2 separate regions of the Homo sapiens genome follow, and region 1 is linked to region 2. Evidence: promoter capture Hi-C in 16 types of primary human blood cells and fetal thymus (Javierre and others, 2016). All regions are on one chromosome and are shown on one strand. Each heading gives the region's core, a stretch centred on a gene start or on the middle of the fragment in contact. The rest is flanking DNA. Distances are from core to core; before and after follow the strand shown. Region 1 has its middle 16 kb from the start of LINC02313. Region 2 holds the start of DTD2 (D-aminoacyl-tRNA deacylase 2).

Evidence for each region. The method cuts DNA at HindIII sites, captures the fragments that hold promoters and counts their contacts. A CHiCAGO score of 5 or more calls a contact.
Region 1: a contact is called between a fragment that was not itself captured here and the fragment with the promoter of DTD2 in region 2, in 1 of 17 cell types (naive CD4 T cells). The highest score is 5.8, in naive CD4 T cells.

The regions. Positions count from the first base shown.
Region 1 is chr14:31,926,403-31,930,818 of GRCh38, forward strand. No RefSeq gene overlaps it. Among named protein-coding and RNA genes, the nearest start is that of LINC02313, 16 kb to the right of the region's middle. The HindIII fragment of the contact is 1,002 bases long and covers 1,792-2,793 here.
Region 2 is chr14:31,455,470-31,460,236 of GRCh38, forward strand. It overlaps DTD2 (D-aminoacyl-tRNA deacylase 2), which reads right to left and starts at 2,037. Exons shown (of 3, transcript NM_080664.3): 1 at 1,814-2,037. The coding sequence starts at 1,924. RefSeq lists enhancers at 1,056-1,641, 1,642-2,227, 1,672-1,881, 2,022-2,201. The HindIII fragment of the contact is 653 bases long and covers 1,474-2,126 here.

The sequences.
Region 1 (4,416 bases), core at 1,043-3,542, 470 kb after region 2:
AAATGGTGGACAGTATCTGTTTTCATTAGGTTGTGCTGGTGAAGTGAAATGATATCATAACATAGAACCTGGTACTTAATAGGTGTTAAATGACAAGCTTACCTTTTCCTTTCTTTATTTTCTATCTCTGTAACATATCTTTTCATACCAGGAATGTGTAATATTGGCAACCTGACTTACCAAATAGAGTAGCTGTGGAATCCTTTTAGGAGAGAAACTGAAATATCTTTATACAATGTCCCTTCTCCCCAGGCACCTAGAACATTGGGTACACCAATAACACTTTAAAATATATATATAATGATTGGAACTATTTCTAAAGAGGAAGGTCATCTTCAGTGTATGTAGACATGAGCTGCCGGATATTCTGTCAGAACAATAGCTATTCATTGTGTTAGTTTCAAAGCTGGCTCCGACAAGCTAGTATTTCAGTGTTATTCCCACACAAACAAATCTTGAGCAAAATTTCCATGACCCAATAGATTGGTGTAAACAACTCGCTGCAAGAACTTTTTACATGTAAACCCATGTCATTCATTCAAATGTTCAGTGCTTTCAGGGAGTTTTGTAAGTGCAGCCTAAGAATTAATGATTTTTAAAAAAGCAAAAACAAAAAACAAATGCTCATCAACCCCTACCCTCAGGATTGTGTTTTGTTGCAGAGTATATGCGGTAAATAGCTCAGTTCCTCCCACCATAGCTGTAGATGGGAGACACAGCCATCAGATAACATAGTCTGATGGGAAAGTCCTTTAAAGGCACTGAAACATTAACAGGCTGGCCGAGGCGTGCAGGCTGCCAGAGGTCCTGACTCCTGGGCCAAAGAATAATGACAGGCTTTCTATTTTTAAATAATAGTTAGCATTTGATAGCACTTAATATTTGCAGTGACCTTTACAGCTATTGTTATTAGTTATTCCTCCCAGCAGCTCTTTGAAAAAAATGACACAACTGTTTTTACTCAACTCCCCCAACTCCTTCTCCTTCCACTGCACTCACAGGATCAGTGGGGTTCTCAGCACATAGTGATGACATTTGCTTAGATGTAAGCTCCATTTCCTCATGAGCAGTGATCTCAGTGATAAAGAATCTTTTCAAGTCAAAACAATATTAAATACGGTGTGTTTTCATATATCCCGTGTGAGTCAGATCATGTCACTTCTCTGCTGAAAACCCTGCAATGCTTCCCCATCTCACTCAGTGTAAAGCCACGGTCTTTACAGTGGCCTGGAAGACTTGTATAATCAACCCCTCCTTCACTGCTTGCACCGACCTCACACTCCTCACCCCCTCCCCATCTCTGCCCTAGTCACATGGGCCTCCCTGTAGCAACTCCAGCCGCACAGGCTCTTGTCTTAGGCCTTTGCCCTGGATATTTCTTCTGCCTGAAATGTTCTTCCTTCACACGTGGCTGCCTCTGACACCTTCAGCTTTTGCTTAGATGTCACCTTTTCAATGAGGTCTCCCCTGCCAACCTAATTTAAAACTGCAGCTGTGATCAAGTACTTATTGCCTCCTAATGTACTATATTATTTACTGAGTTACTGGGTTTACTGTTTATTTTCTCTCCTCCACAAGACTGTAAAATCCACAAAAGCAGAGATCTTTGTCCATTTAGTTCACTGCTATATACCAAGCACCTAGAACAATACATATAGAAGGCATGTAATAAATATTTGTTGGATGAACAAATGCTGTTTCTCTAAAGATTGTTGTAATAGGTTTGACCTGTAGACTTAGAATGCATCTCAGTATGTGGTTTATCTTTATATTCCTTAGCAGTAGTTCCTAAGCTTGTTTTCCAACCATAGCAAACAGTTCATTTTGATAGTAATTCTGTAGAGCTAAATGAAGCACACAAATTCTAAAGGTTGGAAGGAAGTGCTGCAGCAAAGAAATGGATTTTGTAGGTGTTATAGTCCAACCACCCATCTATTCTAATCCCATCAACTGCATCCCCATGGGGCATTGTATCTCTCCATCTTTACAGAAAGGGAGAAGAGGACAGAGGTAAAAGAATAGGTTCTGTGATCAGGAGGCCCTGTCATGTAATTCTTGTTCCACCCATGTCTACTGTGTGACCTTGAACAAGATACTTTAGCCTCTTTCTGCCTCAGTTTCCTCATCTGTAAAATGGTGATAGAAACAACTGCTACCTCATAGCCGGTTTTTTCCCCTAACATTTTTTTTTTAACTGTGGTAAAATACGTATAAAATGTACCATCTTACTCAATTTTAAGTGAACAGTCTAGTAATATTAAATATATTCATAATGTTCTGCAATCATTACCACCATCCATCTCCGTAACTCTTTTCATCTTGTAACATGGAAACTCTATACCTCTTAAACAATAACTCCCATTTCTACCTCCTCCCAGCCACTGGGAATCACCATTCTACTTTCTGTCTTTATGATTTTTTATACTCTAAATGCCTTATATACATGGAAAATATAGTCTTTTTGTGACTGGCTCATTTCACTTAGCATAATGTCTTCCAAGTTTATCTATTTTGTAGCATATGTCAGAATTTCCCTCCTCTTTGAGGTTGAATAGTATTCCTTTGTATGTGGTGTGTGTGTGTGTGTGTGTATATATATATATATATATATATATGCCATATTTTGTTTATCCATTTATTCATCCATGTACTATTGTGTTGCTTTCACATTCATAGGGTTTTGTGATGATGAATGAGCTAAGGGAGGTAGAATTTGGCATATAGTAAGCACCAAATAAATACTAGCTGCTATTATTATTATTAATCCTGATTTTTAGAAAGTCCTTAACATTAAGCTTATTTCAGTTTTATTAAGTTATATACAACTGATATAACCCATGATATAACCCACTTTAATGACCTGGGGAGTACAAATAATAGATATATCTTTTATTCCCCTATTAGTTGCCAGAACATCTTCCTGATAATACTAATAGGAAGCCCAGTATCTCTCTCTTAAGGCCCTATCGCCTCTCACCTCTTCTAAACATCCAAGATTGCCAAGAACACTCTGGTCTTCATTCATTCCAAAAGGGCTAAGTCCCAGTTCTAAAAGCAAGCGGAGAAAAAACTGAGCAGTCCAAGTGGTCTGCCAATATTGCTGCTTCTTCCTGTGGGGTAATATTGAAAACTGGCTCTACACAGGCCAGCAGCCACTTCCCCACTGCTGCAGGGATTCTCTCACTGACTTAGGTCTTCTTCATGGACCTAGGACTTGGACTTCAAGATTACAGCTCTTTTAGTTCATAGTGCTCAGTCATTGTTCTCAAATCACACCCACAACCAGAAGAGTTTCTAGTCTCAGCCATGGGATACATGGGACCAGCCTTCTCACACCTCTGTACCCTTAATCCTGCTGGTAACACTGGATCATCAGTCTAGACTGTCCCTTTTCTCATGGTGAGTTTCCCCTTTGGAATTTTTGATGTCCTTTTCTCCTCCAGGCTTCTTGTGGGGTCTATCCTAACCCATCAGGAAGGTTCTAATAATGTCTCCTGCTAGGAGGCTCCTTGACCTCCCTGCAATTGTTCAGCCTTTCATCAGAGACCAGCTCTGCATAACAGGGGTATTGGAGGGGCAGGCTTTGTCAGGCCACATATAACTTCTACTAGACTGTCCTCTCCAGGGCAACAGAGTGTTAAATATCTCACAGCATCATGAGTAAGAGTGGCCCCTTAATGACTCTTTGCCAAATGGGGAAGATCGGTGTCCACTTAGACAGAAAAGTAACTGTCATTACCCAGCTATTTAATTTCAGGTTGCTTCCTACCAGATACCCTGTTACACTTCTGTTCACTGGGTCTGGTTCTACTTTTTTTTCAGACATGGGGTCTTGCTGTGTTGCCCAGGCTAGAGTACAGTGGTGAGAGCATAGCTCACTGCAGCCTCTAATTCCTGGGCTCAGGTGATCCTCCTGCCTCTGCCTTCCAAGTAGCTAGGGCTTGGAAGGTGCAGGCCACAATGTTGGAAGGTGCATGCCATGATGTCTGGCTAATTTAATTTTTTTTCTTTTTAAGAGAAGAGGTCTCTCTGTGTTGCCCAGGCTGGTCTCAAACTCCTGGCCTCAAGTGATTCTCTCACCTTGACCTCCCAAATTGTTGGGATTACAGGCATGAACCAACTCACCCAGCCTGGTTCTACTTCCTGATGTCAGTAGGAACCTCTTCCCTATGACAAAACTTCACCAAATGAATCCCCAGAGGCCTCAGCTTATTTTGTTCTCCACTGGCTCCCCAGCTTACTCACTGGGTAATCTTAGTCACATTTTTAACAATCACAGTTAATGTTTATTGACCTTACTATTTGCCCAGTACTGTGCTAAGTGCTGTAATATATTAACAAATTTAGTCTTTAAACAACCCCATCTACAAAAAGGTCACCTTTTTGTAGATGAGGTAACTGAGACTTAGGAATAAG
Region 2 (4,767 bases), core at 787-3,286:
GAACCCGGGAGGCGGAGGTTGCAGTGAGCCGAGATTGCGCCATTGCACTCCAGCCTGGGTGACAGAGTGAGACTCTGTCTCAAAAAAAAAAAAAAAAAAAGGATAATTATTTTATTTATTATTTATTTTTGAGATGAGGTTTCACTCTGTGGCTCAGGCTGGAGTGCAGTGGCGTGATCTTGGCTCACTACAACCTCTGCCTCCCGGATTCAAGAGATTCTCCTGCCTCAGCCTCCCGAGTAGCTGGGATTACAGGTGCCCGCCACCAAGCCCGGCTAATTTTTGTATTTTTAGTAGAGACGGGATTTCAACATGTTGGCCAGGCTGGTCTCAAACTCCTGACCTCAAGTGATCCGCCGGCCTTGGCCTCCCAAAGTGCTGGGATTACCGCGCCTGGCAGGTTAATTCTTTAGATAGGATGGCAAAATAAAATAATAAAATTTCAAATAAGGAAATCAAGACCTCACAAAAAATCATGACAAAAATAAGAAATAAGAAAAGTGAATTTCTGGGAAAGGAGAGAGATAAGAATACAGGAATTTCTATGCTTATATTTCCAAATTAGCACAGGGCAACAGATTCTGATTTTAGAATAATCACCCACACATCATATAGTTCACGGGTACTATTTACAATAAGTAGGCGGGGTGCGGTGGCTCAGGCTTGTAATCCCAGCAGTTTGGGAGGCTGAGGCAGGTGGATCACCTGAGGTCAGGAGTTCCAGACAAGCCTGGCCAAAATGGCGAAACCCCGTCTCTGCTAAAAATACAAGTTAGCGTGGTAGCTTGCGCCTGTTGTCCCAGCTACTCGGGAGGCTGAGGAAGGAAAATTGCTTGAACCCGGGAGGCGGAGGTTGCAGTGAGCCGAGATCGTGCCACTGCACTCCAGCCTGGGCGACAGATCGAGAATTCATCTCAAAAAATAAAATAAAATATAAATAAATAAAATATAAAAAATAAAATAAATGTAAAATAATAACTAAAATTGTTTTAAGTAATGCTAGATCTGGGACCGAATTCAGCAGAAAAGGCGAGCGAATGAGATTTTGCTACACTGAAGTTTCTGAGTATCTACAAAAGTCTTAATTATGAACTAATTTTTTTCTTACATTTCAACGTACTCCAAAAATACGTCAGAGGCCTTAAAGAAAATTTTATTTGTTTTTGTATGCAGTGGGGGCAGGCGGTCTTAAAAAGTAAAGTATGTATGAAAGTAGAAGGAACTCATAGTGACATAAATGTTTTAAATTCTTTGGAGAAATGTGTTTGATAAGGCAACATTGTTATAAAAGTAGAGGTCTTTGTTTCTCAGTTGGAAATTGGTCAAAACTTTTAAAAGGCTTCTTGAAATAGAATTGTTTCTTAGGAAATCTCATTTCTATGCTAAGACCAAGTCAACATAGGGGGGAATTCGACGCGATCTGAGGCGTAAGTCAAAGCAGATCATGAACTCTTGCAGCAAACCTGACCTACAAGCTTGCCCCCGACCAGCATAGACCACGAGCTGCAAGGGGTCTGAGACAGTAAGGCCTGAAGTTCACCGAACTCAGTTTCAAATACCTGTGGTCCCCCCAAGAAGGGAGACACGCTCTTCCTCTCGGGTGCTACAACTGGCGCTGGGGAACGGTGATGCTGGACCGAAAAGACAAGCGCAGCCAGGCAGGCCACCGCGGCCAGCTTCAAGCTGACCCGGTATCCCCGCGGCCGGACCGCCGGTCTCAGAGGGAGACACAGAGCGGACGAGTCACCGAGACAACGCGGAAAAAACCGCCCCGCACGCCGGAGGATAACGAGAGCTGCCGGGCTGACGTTACCTCCACCCACTGGGCCGCGACGTCCCCATCGGCTGGGCGAATTTGCAGCCGGGCGTGCAGGCACTGCTGTAGGAGCGCCCGGGCCTGAGGAATCCGGCTACCCTCAGCCATGGCTTAAGCCAGCGCCGCGGCCGGACAGTTACTAGGCCATGTGTCGCTGGCCCCTCCCTCGACGCGCTGGCGGGGCAGACGAGGCGGGGCACGACGAAGGGCCTGCGCCGATTGCCCAGTGGCCCCGCCCTTAGGAGGGCGGGGCCTCGGACTGACTCTCGAATGTCCCGGATGTGCGGTCTTGGAGGCCGGCGTAGCGCTAAGCTTCTCGGCAGCACCTGCCCAACTCTGTAGAAGGCGCTCAGTGTATACTTTTATTAAACGATTGAAAAGACTCGTTAAATCTCTTTCCTACAAACCTTTTAAGAAACATTTTTCACCTCAGAAAGCTTAGGTTCCAACTGTTGAAAAATTTTAAATCTGCTTGATTTAAATTCATGTTATGCCCATATGAAAGTAAGTAAACAAATAATCGAATCATAAAGCAAGCGGAGATGGAACTAAAAGCTATATATACATCCTTCAAAATTTTCCTTATTCCAATCAATAAAAACAATGCTGCCTCCTCTATCGGGAATGCCATAAATTATTCTGATTCCACAGTTGTGAAAAGGTATTGGTATGCTATACGAATACACATTCTTTAGAAGATATCCTTGTTAAAAATGTTCTTATCCAAGAAAGTATGATTGTTAATAACTTAGCCCGCTACTAATACAAAAATAAAACAGCTTATTCTGATGCATATGACGTAAATTCTGTGATGCATTTTCTGGAAGTACATATTAGAATGTAAATAAAACTAAACAAGGGCTTGATTTTCTTTCCCATGTAACGTATTCCTTAAACATGCATCAGATTAGCATTTATTTGTCTATGGGCTTGGATGGTTTAGATGAGGAATAATAGTGTTACCCTGATTGCATTACCCAGGTCATTGATTTGGGCTCAGTTGACACAATGTGCCTATACATTCGGATCTGTTGTTTAAAAAGATGACATCACTGACAGTGTTGCTATCCATACAAAGTAGTGTGACTGAAGAAAATAGTCCATGCATAATCAACAGTCCTTTGTACACAAAATCGAAGCTGCTTGTTTGCTGGTTATCTTGCAGCCAGGTTTACACTTTTAGTAAAAACAGAAAGCAAAATCTCACATGATCTCTGATTGTTGCATTGCAGGGATTCCAACAGTTGTTGACATTTGTCTGCAAAGCACAGACAAGTTGAATTGCTTCATGTCTGCACCTTTATGTCATTATAACTACTGAGTCTCTTTTCTCTCCGGCTCTCAGATTCAGATTTTACAGGCCTGAAAGAAACTTTGACATACAAACCATTAGCTATGTCCCAGAATAAGAAAAGACTTTGGTGTCCATTTGTATGTGGCTGCAGGAAATAGGGAGGTCTATAGAGAATAGGTTATGTGGTTCGCAGAGATCTTTCTACAGAGAGGGTTTCTTTAACAAATTGGGAAACCCTTCCTGTGAGTAGAATAGATGGAGTATGGATGGTAATGGTTAGCTTCTCAAAAATCACTAATTACTTTAAACCCTCCTATTGAGTGAGGATCTCGTGGACATTGCTGTAGGTACTGTAATAGGCTGTGGCTCACTTATTTTTTACTTCTATTTGCAGAAGGCTATAGAGAGTGGCCACCAAAGACAGCATTTCCTTTCTGTATTTTATTTTTTGAACACTTAGTTTCATTCTGCAAATAATTTAAGAAGGAAGGACATGCATGCAATAAAATAGTAAAATGTGAATTAAAGCATTAGAAATAAAGAAACTAGAATTATGTCAGTAAGCCACAATGGGGGAAATTGAAAACAGGTAAGACAGTGGTTCTCAACTGGAGTGCTGAGATGATATAGTATGCAGCAAAATTTTCACAAATGTATAACTTTAATTTTTGTTATAAAACAATTATGTTCATTGTATGTAGTATTGAGGTGCTGTAGGTTGTACAATTTGTTTCAAGTTGGAACTAAAGGCAAAGCATAGCATTAAGTTGGCTTTACAAGAAGATGGTGGTTCACTGGAATGTGAGAGAGCTTTGCCTTGTCATTGTATGAGAAATCATTGAGCAGAGATAATTCTCAAACACCTACAATGCTGAAAGTGTACCATATGGATAGGGGATTAATTGTGGATGGGTTCTATGTCCTCTGAGATGGTACAATAACTAATTTAGTGTTATTTTACCTTCTTTAATTCATTTAAGTTGGCTGCCCTAAATTCTGGCATTCAAAGTATTTCACAAACATGAAAAGTTTGAGAACCATTTCTAAAAGATTCCTTAGAGTTGATGCTAAGCTTCCTGGTTGTAAATAGGAGAGGATAGGGAAGGGCAGTATAATCTATTTCATAGTTCTAGGGATAAGCAGAGCTTTTCCTCAGATTTAGCTCTCAGCTGAGCCTCTTACCTGAGACTTTATATAGGATATGTTAATAAATACAAGTGCAGGCCTGGCGAGGTGGCTGATGCCTGTAATCCCAGCACTTTGGGAGGCTGAGGTGGGTGGATCACGAGGTCAGGAGATGGAGACCATCCTGGCTAACACGGTGAAACCATTTTTAGTCTCTACTAAAAAATACAAAAAATTAGCCAGGCGTGGTGGCGGGCACCTGTAGTACCAGCTACTCGGGAGGCTGAGGCAGGAAAATGGCATGAACCCAGGAGGCAGAACTTGCAGTGAGCCGAGACTGCGCCACTGCACTCCAGCCTGGGCAACAGAGCGAGACTCCGTCTCAAAAAAAAACCAAAACAAAACAAAACAAAAAAAAACCAAAAAAAAACAAGTGCAACTGGAAGAGGTAGGTATCTTATCTTAGGGAAGACAGTATCTAGCCCTCTAGTTTAAAGCCCAGATATTTTTTTTTCTAGTTTAAAGCCCAGAG